Linked DNA regions of Homo sapiens: region 2 is linked to region 1. The links are contacts of gene promoters, found by promoter capture Hi-C in blood cells and fetal thymus (Javierre and others, 2016). All regions are on one chromosome and are shown on one strand. Each heading gives the region's core, a stretch centred on a gene start or on the middle of the fragment in contact. The rest is flanking DNA. Distances are from core to core; before and after follow the strand shown.

What was found. The method cuts DNA at HindIII sites, captures the fragments that hold promoters and counts their contacts. A CHiCAGO score of 5 or more calls a contact.
Region 2: the fragment with the promoter of TTC33 here is called in contact with the fragment with the promoter of LMBRD2 in region 1 in 1 of 17 cell types (total CD4 T cells); the score reaches 6.9 in total CD4 T cells.

Annotation. Positions count from the first base shown.
Region 1 is chr5:36,149,353-36,155,961 of GRCh38, reverse strand. It overlaps LMBRD2 (LMBR1 domain containing 2), which reads left to right and starts at 4,075. Exons shown (of 18, transcript NM_001007527.2): 1 at 4,075-4,406. SKP2 (S-phase kinase associated protein 2) reads right to left here and starts at 3,851. Exons shown (of 10, transcript NM_005983.4): 1 at 3,692-3,851; 2 at 2,920-3,191. The coding sequence starts at 3,699. It also overlaps the pseudogene RNU6-1305P. RefSeq lists enhancers at 3,545-3,734, 3,808-4,791 and silencers at 4,005-4,144, 4,745-4,804. The HindIII fragment of the contact is 3,342 bases long and covers 1,120-4,461 here.
Region 2 is chr5:40,753,238-40,759,846 of GRCh38, reverse strand. It overlaps TTC33 (tetratricopeptide repeat domain 33), which reads left to right and starts at 3,886. Exons shown (of 5, transcript NM_012382.3): 1 at 3,886-4,023. It overlaps PRKAA1 (protein kinase AMP-activated catalytic subunit alpha 1), which reads left to right. Exons shown (of 9, transcript NM_006251.6): 9 at 1-458. RefSeq lists an enhancer at 3,863-4,012. The HindIII fragment of the contact is 9,414 bases long and covers 1-5,093 here.

The DNA.
Region 1 (6,609 bases), core at 2,826-5,325:
CACATCCACCTGAATGGGAATCACAGCTCTTATTTTTTATTGTATTTTCTCCTCAACTTGACTTGCAAATTCCTGGGAAATAGCAAAGACTCCGGAAACTTCTGTCTTGTTCCCACAGTGCCTTGCTTAAAAAAAATTCTTTTTCACTTGTGGAAGGGCATATAGCAATCACACTCTATGTCAAAAGCTATCGGCACTGGACAGGTTAATAAAAATCTGTTCATCTTAGCAGGAAGTATCTTTCGCCATATTTGGTTGGTCAAGCACCAGATTGTTAGGGCTACATTCCAGACACAAAGAAGAGCGGTGAACATTAAATTTTGAAGAAAAAAAATTTTATACTAACAGGGTCAGAGTAACAATATTAAAAACAAAAGATAAAAGTCCACTAGCCTCCAAAATTGGTGTCAGGAATTTTGTTGGCTTATGTATTGTTACGTGTCAGTGGCATGCTAAGGGTTTTACGTCATTCTCATTTAATCTTCACGACGACCTGTGAAGTGGGTATTATTACAGCACTCCATTTCACAGATAAAGGAACTAAGGCAAAGAAAGCTCGAATAACTTTCCAAGGCTGATAAACGCAAGAATGAGGATTCAAACCCAGATCTGACTTCACTACAACCCTCTACTGCTTTTCTAACTAATCCAATTCCTGATGTATATTCCCAGACCATAAATTGGGCAAAGTTCTCTTTCCTAAAGAAAAGGCTGAAAACAAACGTATTTATTTTCTTAATTAAAAGTGGAATGCATCTCGAATCCGCATGTCTTCCTGCGCAGGGGCCATGCTAATCTTCTCTGTATTTCCAGTTTCAGTATATGTGCTGCCAAAGCGAGCAACCAACCAATCAACTAAACAACCAATCTATCAACCCTTCTGCAAAGGAAACCAGATGGGAGAATTTATGAATATACTTAAATTACCTTGGGTCTGCAAGACTTCATCTTTAAATGTTTAATCTGTTTCTTCTTCGCCATCATCCCCCACCTGATTTCAATTTAGACTCTGATCACCTCTTCCACAGATGATTTCAACAGCCTCCTAAATTCTGTTGACTTTAATGTGGGAATATATCCGGAATCTGACCACCCTCACCCCCAACAAGACTTCAAGCTTTGGCCAGGTGTGGTGGCTCATGCCTGTAATCCCAGCACTTTGGGAGGCCAAGGCTGGAGGATCGCCTGAGTCCAGGAGTTTGAGACCAGCCTGGGCAAGATGGTGAGAACGCCCCCGCAACCTCCATCTCTACAAAAAATAAAAAAATTGCTGGGCGTGGTGGTGCATGCCTGTAGTCTCAGTTACTTAGGAGGCTGAGGCAGGAGAATCGTTCGAATCCAGGTGAAGACAGTGAGCCAAGAGCAGGTCACTGCATTCCAGCCTGGGCAACAGAGCAAGACTCCGTCTTGAAAATATGAAATTTAAAAAAGACCCTAAGTTTCTACCCTTGATGCCCCTGCAGCTGAGTCTCAACACATCAGTGTGTCATTTTTAGAAGGTTAAATCAGGTCCCATCACAACTCTGCTCAACATTACCTCCAGCCTGATCTCCCCCGACTCTCCCTTTCGCTCATTCCACTCTTAGAATATGGCTTCCCTGTTCCTGGAACAAATACGTCACATTTATGCACCAGGGTCTTTGCAGTGGCTGTTCCTTCTGCTTGGAGCTCTTTTCTCCAAGATATTTGCATGGCACACTCCTTGCCTCCTTTATGTCTTTGCTTAAAGGTCACTGTCCAATTGAGGCTTTCTCTCAATACCTGGTTTAAAAGTGCACTCTATCTTCCCACCCCAAGACCTGCATTCCCTCTTGGCTTGTTCTATTTTTGTTTTTAGCCATAGCTCTTATCACCTTCTAACATACTATATAAAAATAGTTATTGTGTTTATTGTATTCTCTCACTAGAATGGATGCTCCCTGAGAGCAGAAATGTTTGTTGTGCCCACTCCTCTATCTCCAGCACCTGGAACACGGCCTAGCACATGGTATGTGCTCAGCAAATATTTGCTGTATTACTGTTTTAAATAGCTTACTAGTAAGAAAAACTGATAACCCCAGGTCAATGCCCTGTTTATCCTATGGCTTTTGCATACTCCAGGGTTCTGGTTCACTCTGGGAGGCACTCGTTCGCCTGCTTGAGGAACTAGGGGATGGGGAGCTATTAAGGAGGGAAGATACAGTAAGTTCTACATTTCAGTCAATCCATTCTAGTTCGGGGGATAGATCTGGGGAGAAGAAGGTTGGAATTATGAATCCACTCCAATAGTTCAGGCAAGAGACGACGAGAACTTGAGAAATAGTTACCAGAGAAGAGGGAAAGATGCGATGAATGACTGGATGTTGGGGGGCGGTGGGAAGCTGACTGACTCTCAGGTTTTCGGGTTGGGTGATTAAACAGATAGTGTCAGCAGTAATGGAGACAGAACATACCAGGAGAAGCCAATATGGGGGTGGGAGTGGGCCTGGGGAGATGTCTCCCCCACTTAGGTGAACGTTCACTTCGCAGTCCACTGATAAATAACTAAAGTGATTAAGGCAAAAAGATCACTCAGGGGTACAAAGCAAAAGGAATCCTACAAGAAGACCACTGTTTATGTTTCTGTTAAACGGTGAAACTGAGCTGGCCTTGAGGCAGGCAGATTCCCTTCTAAGGAAAAAGGCAGGAATGTCTTCTCATGGGTTAAAATTTTCAAGGTGATTATGCACCAGAACATACATATATATATATATATATATATATATATATCTACCAAGATTCCTGCATACTTGACGACTTGCCCTATTTTGTTGAAAAATAGCTTCAGAATTAGGCAATCTTAAAAGGAACCCATGCTAAAGATCTCTGAACAAAGGTTTCCCAACAACATAGCTAAATCCACCCTTTGCATAACTGACATTTTTACCCTCATGTCCTTACCTGGAAAGTTCTCTCGATTTAGCTTAGGCCTGCGGACAATCACAAAGTCTTTGTCACTCCCTTTGCTCTTCAGCCGTTTCCGTGGGGGGCTCTCCGGGTGGCCCAGGTTTGAGAGCAGTTCCTGGGGGATGTTCTCACTGTCGGGCTCCTCTTTCTCCAGGGCGGAGACCCCCATGCCTGACAGCAGTTCAGAAGTCTTGCTGGAATCCCATCCCCACGTGAAGCTGGTGGCAACGTTGCTACTCAGGTCTGGAATCTCCTGGAGGTGCTTCCTGCAGAAGTGCACAATACCCCCGGTTCCTTTCGAAAACACACCCATAAATAATTTCAAGGCAATTAAAGAAGCTGCAGTTTATGCATTGTAGGAAACCTTCACAGCAGCTAACAGAATCGCATTTTTTATGTGCCTGCGGCGAGTTACCAAGAAAACGAAGAAATGAAAAGAACAAATCGAGAAGGCTTTTTGACTTACGATCCTGCAGAAGGCCTCAAGAATTTCTCCCAGTGGAGGGAACAGACAAGGAGAGAGACAGGGCAATCATACACTGATTGAAAACGGTGGCAGAAAAGCCCAATTAGGGAAGCCAAATAAAACCACACGCTGATCCCCGCACTAAGGCATCCATCCATTCACACTTTCCCCAAGAAGGGGCTAAGCAACCATTCACTTAACAGCATTACTAACAATATTAGCCAGTAGCGATATTCGCGGCCTAAAAGAATTATTAAGAGGGTCCATTTCATGCTCTTCCCCTTTTTGCAATCCGTTTACCTGTGCATAGCGTCCGCAGGCCCGGGAGTTTAAAATACGTGCATTAACTGCAGAGCTGCTCGCCTCCCAGATTCCCGCTTTGGCGCGCGGCGGCTCCGAGCGTGCTGCTCGGGCCCCCAGCAGCCAGACCCGCTAAGCCTAGCAACGTTCCATCCCCACTGCGCGCGCAAGGCTCTACAGCCCGCTCTGCTTCGCGGCCGCACTGAGGCCCAAGGCCTGCTGGGAATTGTAGTTTCCGTCCCGCTTCGTAGTCCGACGGGCTCGCCCTTACTTCCTTCCCTTGCAGCTTTACCCGCCTTCGAGATACCCACAACCCCCCGCGGGAGCGGGACTGGTCGGCCCACGGGGTAGGCGGGGAGGCGGAAGCGGGCGGCGCTACGGCTGACTGGGAAATGTCAGCCGCTGGACTGTAGACGGATTTTCCTTTCTCGGGAGCCCGCAGGCCTTCTGGTGATCGCCAGCGCTGTCGTCTCTGAGCGTGGATCCCAGAACCTGGACAGCTGTGGCGGCCGCCGTTTCCCGGTCCCGTCCAGACGCTGTCTGGCGAGATCGGACGGTGAGCCTAAGGCGGAACGCGTGAGGCGCTTTTGAGTCTGGGGTCCGGGGCCGAGAGCAGGCGGAAAGAGAGGGGACCCGGCAGACCCCGAGTGGCCGCCGCTGCGGGGCCCAAGTCCTTGGCTGCTGAGTGGTGACAGTAGCCCAGCCCGCCGGCCAGGTGAGAGGCTGCGAACTGCTGGCGTCGCACCTGTTCGTCCTTTTGCCAGGAAGCTTCTTCCTCCGTCGGGGAGAAGGCGGCCCTAAGAATTGGGTCTGTGGACGGGATCCTTCCTTTATCTGTAAAATAACGCACAACAGCTAAACACGCCGTTGGAACGAGAGACAATGGTTTAATTTTAGGGGAGCCGGAGACCCCAGCGGGTCCTGTGTGGTGGGAAGGCTGCGCATGCCCTTGCAGCCTTGACAGGTCTCATAAATAGCAACATGGGAATAAATGAAAGGACTGTATTTTGCAACGAGCTTTACCCGTGCACGCAGGGGGCCTCCAGCAAAGCCATTTGGTTGCTTGCTGTCGCTCAGCTGGCTACGTGTGTTTGCGTCGCCGCCTAAAAGCGAGCTGCTTTCAGCCTATCTCTGCTGAGAAGAGTTTGGGGGCAGTAAGAGTAGGGAGCGTGACATATTCCAGGTACAATGACCATGCGAAATCCATTGGGCAAACTATACTACAACTGTGACCCCGGGAAAACAGTGGAAGAGGGAAGGGGGATGAATTCTAAGCCTCATAAAAATGAAGATTTATAAAGTTCATAAGGAAGCATAACAGCTTCATCGCATATTAGAATATTCAGTGATGCTGTATGACACACCCTCTGGTTTCCTTGAAAAAATGATTCGCTCTGTAGTGAAATTAAACCTCCCTTGTGCAGGTATATGCTTGTTTCAAGCTTGGTCCTTAGCTTGAAAAGTAACTGCCTCTTGAGGAAGGAATTCATGAACCTTTAGCTCGTTCTTGAAAGATGAGATTGGTGTAAAGAAGGGATCTGTTCACAACTTGGTTTTGATTGGAACTAGGTGCAGAATCCTAGGCTAAGCCGTTCATCAAACTAATGTTATATGGAAAGCATTTTAAAATGCAATATCCTGATGTTTTACAGAAAGTGACCTTTATGTTACTTTGGCTAAGGAGAAAGCATTTGCCTTTGTTTGAAGCTACGTCCTTTCCCTGAAGATTGCAACTCATAGGAGAAAATATTTTTGACACAAAAAATTATAGTTTCCTTCAGGAAAGGGAACAAAACAGAGAGAGCCTGTAAGCTAATGGAGGAGAAAGAATAAACAAAAATATTTAAGATGCCATAATGAGAATAAACAGTTTTGAGATGTAAAATAATTGGGAGAGCCCACTTCAGATATAGATCTCATAGATAGGAAGGTTTAATCGATGAGATGATTCTAAATTTAAAGATGAGAAATATCTTTGTTCAGTCTTGGTTTTACTAGGAGTTACCTGGGAACTAGAATACTTGCAACATCTGAATTAGTGAACACAAGATCCTCTCTAGGACTTCAGGGAGAGCCTGTCAGTTTTGAAATTCAGTTTGATAGTTTGCCCCGGTAACAGACATACTTCATCTTCCTAATATGGGAATAATTTTTTTTTGCCTTCCTTCTAATCATGACTATTGCCTTAATATAATAAATGCAAGTTTAAATTGGTACATTAGATTCTTTTTAACGTAAGGAATTGTGTCCATTGAAGACGAGATTAGTAGGTACATAGAGGTTGCTATCTGGTCATAAAGAACTGCATTGTGATTGCTACTGATGTATCTTATTTTTTCTGATTAATTTTATTTTTATTTTTTGAGAAGAAATTTCACTCTTATTGCCCAGGCTGGAGTGCAATGGCGCAATCTCGGCTCACCATAACCTCCACCTCCCATGTTCAAGCAATTCCCCTGCCTCAGCCTTCCTGAGTAGCTGGGATTACAGGCATGCGCCACCACGCCTGGCTAATTTTGTATTTTTAGTGGAGACGGGGTTTCTGCATGTTGGTCAGGCTGGTCTCGAACTCCCGACCTCAGATGATCCACCCACCTCAGCCTCCTAAAGTGCTGAGATTACAGGCGTGAGCCTCCGTGCCCAGCCGATTCTTACATCTCTTTAAAAGGAAGACGGTCCACCCTTCTTTGTTTCTCCATCCTGCTGTCTAGATGATGATAGGATTCCTGGAGTTCCAGCATCTGTCCTGGAACATAAGGATTAAAGCCACCTGCTAAGGATGTGGACTATAGAAGGGGCCTGGGCCTCTGATAATCTGCTAACTTGCCATAACCACCTATCTCAAGACTTACACGAGAAATAAATTCTGCATTGTATAAGTCTGTACTATATTGGACTTTTCTGTTATGTGTAGCCAA
Region 2 (6,609 bases), core at 2,637-5,136, 4.6 Mb before region 1:
AATAAACTCCATTGCTTTTACCTAATTTTTTTCTTGAGATGCTTTTGTAGTTTTTCAGAGTTTTAGATGATTTTATACAAAATCCTCTGCCTAGCACTGCTCTTTTTGATGTTGTAGTGACACCATTTACATTGAATTAATGCTTGGTAGCCTGGGGCTAGATGTGGAACTCCATGGATCTGTGTTCTGACTGGCACCTTTGGAATGAAAGAAAAGTGTGTGCTGTCCAAATTTTTTCCCCTTAATTCTTTCCCTCATCTTCTCACCCATAATAGAAATTTTATTTCCATTGTGAGTTCTGACAAGAATGAAATTCCACATACAACATAACTGTAAATTGTTGGTAGGTAGAAGTTAATATTTGTGGTTCATGTATATTTTGACCAGAGTATATTTAAGTATATAATTTCAGCTTCCTTGATTTAGAAATATGATATAATAAAGAAAAACTCCATTTATCATCTGTTACAATGTACTTATGTTTTTTAACCTCTGGGAAAACTCAGTGGAAAAAAAAAAAACTAAGTATCTGTGCACCTTTCTTTCTAACAATGTACCGGCTAGGTGCGGTGGCTCACACCTGTAATCCTAGCCCTGTGGGAGGCTGAGGTGGGTGGATCACCTGAGGTCAGGAGTTCAAGACCAGCCTGCCAACATGGTGAAACCCCGTCTCTACTAAAAACACAAAAATTAGCTGGGCGTGGTGGCGGGCACCTGTAGTCCCACCTACTCGGGATGCTGAGGCACGAGAATCGCTTGAGCCTGGGAGGTGGAGGTTGCAATGAGCCGAGAACATGCCACTGAACTACCAGTCTGGGCAAAAGAGTGAGACTCTGTCTCAAAAAAAACCCCACCAAAACAACAACAAAAAAAGTACCTAGAAATATAAAATATAGTGCCTGGCCACATTTAAATTGTCAAACATTGTGATTTTTATCTCGACTACATGAGTCTTGATTTCATCTAAAAACCAACCACTTGAATAAAACATGATAGATACAATAAAAGCCAAAGCAACTGCCATTTATCAGTTGCTAACACTTGATTTGGTTAGAATCCTACTACTGTTAGAATTCAATTAATATTAAATATTGTATCCATATGACATGATTAGGCAGGGGCTTGTGCTAGATTGTTGACACTCTGTTATCTTTAAAACAACAAAAGAAAACTGCTAAAGAGTGCTATGAGTAGTATATAAGGTTTTTTTAGGGAATGTATAAATTGCTGTAGGTATTTACCTTGGCTGTACAAGAATTGTCCAAGAAATTCTTGTTTGAAAAATCAGAATTTTTGAACTCTTTTATTTATTGTAAATAAACTATTTACTGTAAATGCCAATAAATTATGATAAATTTAAAGGATTTTGGAAAATGATCATGTTGTCTTAAAAAGACAGCATAAGACATATATTAAATATATTAGGTGAATCAAGATCATAGACCAGTCAGAGTTAGTAGAGAAGTAGTGGGTGAAGTATAAAAACTTAGTGGGAGCTACCCTTAAACACAGTAGAGGAGATCAGGGTTAGGTTACTTGAGAGATTTAGCAAAGACCCCTAGGTAGGGGGCACAGCTTCAAGTACCATTTACTCACTCTGCAACCTCTATTCCTTCTTATTGGCTACTATGAACTAATGACACTATGAATGTGACCATAAGATAAATCTTCCCTCTGCATGTCTTGTTAGGGAGGTACATGTTTTCTTATTTAAGACTTTCATAGACATATATACAGAAAAGTGCACAAATGAGTATTTGGCTTAATGAGTTTTCAGTATTTCAGGTACACAGGAAACATGACCATGTAAACCTCTAGGCAGATTAAGAAACATTGCCACCATCTTAGTGTCTTTCATAATTAATATCGGAAGTGATAAACGGTCACTTCTGCCCTCTTCTGTAGGTAACACAGACCAACCGTGGTACAATATAGGAAGGCAGTGCATAAGGATGTGAATGCCAGGAGTGAATGCCATCTTGGAGGCTGGCTACCGCAGTCATGCATTGATCGTTTTCAAATACTACTGGTTCACTTATGCAGCCTGCACAAATATTGATGTATTTAAGCAAACAATGTAAATAAAAGTCACAACTGATAATCACTTATATCAGAAAATTCTGGAGATACTGGGAAGCTGCCAAGATCATTATGGTGAATACCATTTTTCCAAAATCATATTTTTTTTTTGCCTAAAATCTTGAATTTTATCATTGGCAACAAACTCAATTTTTTTTTCTTTCCTCCCTCCCTCCCTATTTCTCTTTTTTCCTTTCCTTTCCCCTTCCCCTTTCCCTTTCCTTGTTTTTCTTGAAGTTACAGATTCCCTTTGTTCATTTTCAAGAAAGGTTTGTCAAATACCCAAGTCCGAATAACCGGTTTGTCACTCATCTTAGTAAAATTTGTGTTCCAGGAAAAAAAAGTATTTACTTCAGTTTATAATGCCATCTCACAGTAGCTCTTCTTTGATACGTCATACTTCAATATGCAGCAGAAGTACTTTGTGAGGACTTCCAAGTTTTTACAAAGAATATTAAGTGTCGGAGTGGTTATAATAAAGTAACTTTTACAACTTCATCAGGGATATTCTCTGGTGACAGCGTTCATTTTTCCATTTTTTTTTTTTTTTTTGAGACCGTGCCTTGCTCTGTCATCCAGGCTGGAATGCAGTGGCATGACCTCGGCTCACTGCAGCCTCGACCTCCCAGGCTCAAGGGATCCTCCCACCCCAGCCTCCCGAGTAGTTGGGATTCAGGTGCGTGCCGCCAGGCCTGGCTAATTTTTGTATTTTTGGTAGAGATGGGGTTTCGCCATGTTGGCCAGGCTGGTCTCGAACTCCTGACCTCCCAAAGTGCTAAGATTACAGGCGTGAACCACCGCGCCCGGCCCATTTTTCTTACTGTGAGCGTGTGGTGGTGAAGAGCTCCAGTACGGTTTGGTGTCATTACTGTAATTCCTGTGGAGGGGCCAGCACCTTGACCTACCATTGCTTTTCCACCATCAGTGCAAATGTCAGCATTGTGCAAAGGGCAAATCACGTCTTCATATTAGTATGAAAATAATTTTGGCTTTGAAAGGGTGTCATTGACCCTCAGGACAATCGTTGGTCGACATCAGTGGTTCTCAACGGGGCAGGGTGGGAGGGATAGTTTTTCTTCCAGGGGAAATTTCACTGGGGAAACCATTGGCTGTCACAATCGACTGGTGGTGACATCCCGTGGACAGAGACCAGAGATGCTGCTAAGCACCCTACAATGCACAGAACACCCCGTCCCCCAACAAAGCATTATCCAGTTTGAAATGTTAATGGTGCTGAGGCTGAGAAAGTATGACTTCCAAAAATGAGTCTTTTGGGCAGGAGAGTTGGAGAAATTAACAATCTTGATTACCTTTATTACATGTGCTCGTTTATTTTCAAGACATGATGCACAGCTACGTTCTGGCTGTAATTCTGCCTTCTGGGTCCAACTCACTTGTAACTTTAACGTGAAGCCTGCAGTTCAGCCTCGAGCCTCCCTGACTAGCCTCCCCGCCCGGCCGCCTCGAGCCCTTTATAACCGAATTTTGCCTCTCTGTTCTCTGCGTCTGGCCGACCTCATCAGCTAGGCTATAAACCCCTTCGGGGAAGGAGCATATCCTAATCCTTTGAATCCCGTAAAATAAGTTTTCCCCTCACCTTGTTCCCCACTGACGGGACGCGAGGCTGCGCGGTACCGCGGGGGCGGCTCCTCTCGGTGCGCTCTTCAGCCCGCGCAGCCTCATTTTCCCGCGCTCGTGCGCTGCGGTCACTCAGGGCTGCTGCTAGAGGGCGCGCCCAGCCGCGTGGCCCTGACTACTACAAATCCCAGAAGGTCATGCAGTGGGGGCGGCCGCGGTGACTTCTGGGATTTGTGGTCCCGGAGAAGAGATTGGCGGAGGGGAAAGACTGAGTCGTCTTTCCTTTGCCCGCTTCTGTGGACTGTTCGAACGCCCAGGGGTGGGCCAAACCCGTTTCTTAGGAAACCAGGAATCCAGGGAAGGCAGGTAGGAATTTGGGCGTGATAATTTCTGCTTCCAGTGGGAAAGAATGTAAACACGGGGCCTTGGGAGCCGTTATCGGGTAACTGGGGCTGCCCGGTCGGCGGTGGAAGCTGAGGAAGAGGAGGAAAAAGAGGCGAGTGGGTGTTGTGATTAGGGGAGAAAGGACCTTCGGAATAGGAGTTGAAACCCGACGGGATCCGGCAGAGCCTGGTCGCTAGGGTTGGTCTCCAGGGACAAGCGAGTCTGAGGGTCGGGCCCGCCGTGGCACCTTCGCGGAGCTGCGCGGCCGCAACCTTCCCTGAGCGGTGGGACGGGCGGGACGAGCCGGCCGCTCCCCGCTGGAGAGGTGTCTGCGGCCCGGGGCGGTCCGTGAACGCGCAGGTGACGTCCGGGGCAGCCTTTCTGAGCGTTTTTATTATTGTTGACCGATGAAGGGAAAGTCACTAATACTGGTTTTTCTCTTGCGGTGGCGTTTTTGGGTAAATCGTTTCTTGGATTCCTCACCTCTGAATACCTCCTTTTACCCAGAAGGATGCTGTTGTGATTTCCTGATCTTGTTCATGTAGTGGTTTTTCCCTTTGGGTGCTGCATCCTCAGACACACTCAAGACAAGCCCTCTCTGGCGGCTGGGTAAATGTGAAGCCGTCGCCAGTTGTTGAGCGCCTACTATAGGGATCTTTGTAACAGTACAGGAATTTAGAATACAGCGTCGTTGTTTAGAATCGTTATGCCATTCCTGAAATATAATCCTATATAAAAGGTTGAATTTGTCTGGTTTCATGAGTTTAACATGAAACCGGTGTGGATTGTGGTTTACTCTCATGGTTTCTTACTCTGGTAAAAAAATGTTAAGTCTAGGATGTTGAAGCCTCGTGCTTCTAACTAGACTCAGGAAAGCCTCCTTCATAAGAAGTTTTAATTTCATGTTCAGATAGTCATAGAGGAACAATAAACTCGTTCGGCTTAAGATATCTGAAACAACTGGGAATGTTAAATTTTCTAATGCAGAAAGTGCTTTGCATGCTCTAGGATTCACATACCTTTTTAAGCCTGGCTAAGTTTTCTTCAAAGCTTAAGTCCTCCAGAAAGCCTCAAGTGTCTCTTCTCTGATGTCATGGCATCCTTTGTTTACTCTCTTGTAGCACATATCGTGTATGAAATTGACTGTACTCTGTGGTTTCCAGACACTTTTGAAGAAAATATAAAACTTTGCTAATGGCCTTGATAACAGATTCATGCTTTTACACAGTAGTGGGCCCTTGATACTACTGTTTGGTATCTCTATTTTTCCTTTGTTGCTTTTCCTTATCTCCACAGTGACTATTTTAGTCTTTTCCCTTTTTCTCAAGAACTCAGATCTGTTATTTTCCTTTTACTTTGAGCAGATGACTAGCCGCTGTTTGCTGGAGAAATGTGAAGCTTGGGGCATGAAATTCCTCATTTTCCTTTCCCTCCATCCCTGAACTTGCCTGTATGTTTCACTCAATATTAACTCCTTTTTTTGTCTGAGAGGACTGTATTTTTGTCTCCCTCTTTCAGGTTAAACTTGTCGATTGCTAGTGGCATCAGGCCTCCCACACCCTCATAACCTCAGTCTGTCCTGACCTCTGCAGCCCCTGATCTCTAGGTCTCAAGGGATCTGTGGAGGAGAATGGCTCAAACACCTGAGGCAATAGTGGCGTGGTTTTTTCACATATGGTTGAGAGCCACCACCTTGGGCCATAACTTATACTTGTCCCCAGCATTTATAACAGTGGTTTGGGTTGGAAGATGGGGAGGGTAATTGGAATCTGAATGACCTATTAATTTTAAAAGATGTGTGGGTCTGTTTCTCACTTTTTCCTTTCCTTCCCACCCTATCACAGCCCCTCATGTAATCTACAGATCTGATCAACGGTTTTTTTTTTTACTTTTTTTTCTTTTGATCAATGATTTTTATTGTAGTTTACCTCCAGTAAACACACTAGGTGTCCTTTAGTATGAGTAGGGTTCCCACAGTGCCTGGTGCCTCACCTTATGAATAAAGAAAGTTTCATTTGGAATCTTGAAACCGGAAAACGTGGTCATCATTCTTGTTACCATTAGGGATAATCATAAATACAAGACTTCTTTTTATCTTGTCTTACACTGATATCTTGTGAGTCTTTCCTAATGATCTGTATTTTCTCAGGTTGTCCTCACTGTGTGCCTTTTAACTTCTGTTCCATAGTATCCACACTTCTGTTTTCAGCCATCTTCCCCTACAATACTCATAGTCATCTTCAAACATGGGAAACTCATTCTCCTATAATATGATCGGCCTGGGGAGAGAGTTTGCATTGTCCTTATTCCCCAGCACAGTTTATAATCCATTAGTCCTCCAGGTTTTAAAAAAAATCTCAGTTCCTGTGGAAAGTTTGTGGTTCACTTATATTATCAGCCTGTATATTTCTTTCTTTCTTTCTTTCTTTCTTTTTTTTTTTGAGATGGAGTTTTGCTCGTGTCGCTCAGGCTGGAGTGCAATGGTGCAATCTCGGCTCACTGCAACTTCTACCTCCTAAGTTCAAGCGATTCTCCTGCCTTAGCCTCCCAAGTAGCTGGGATTACAGG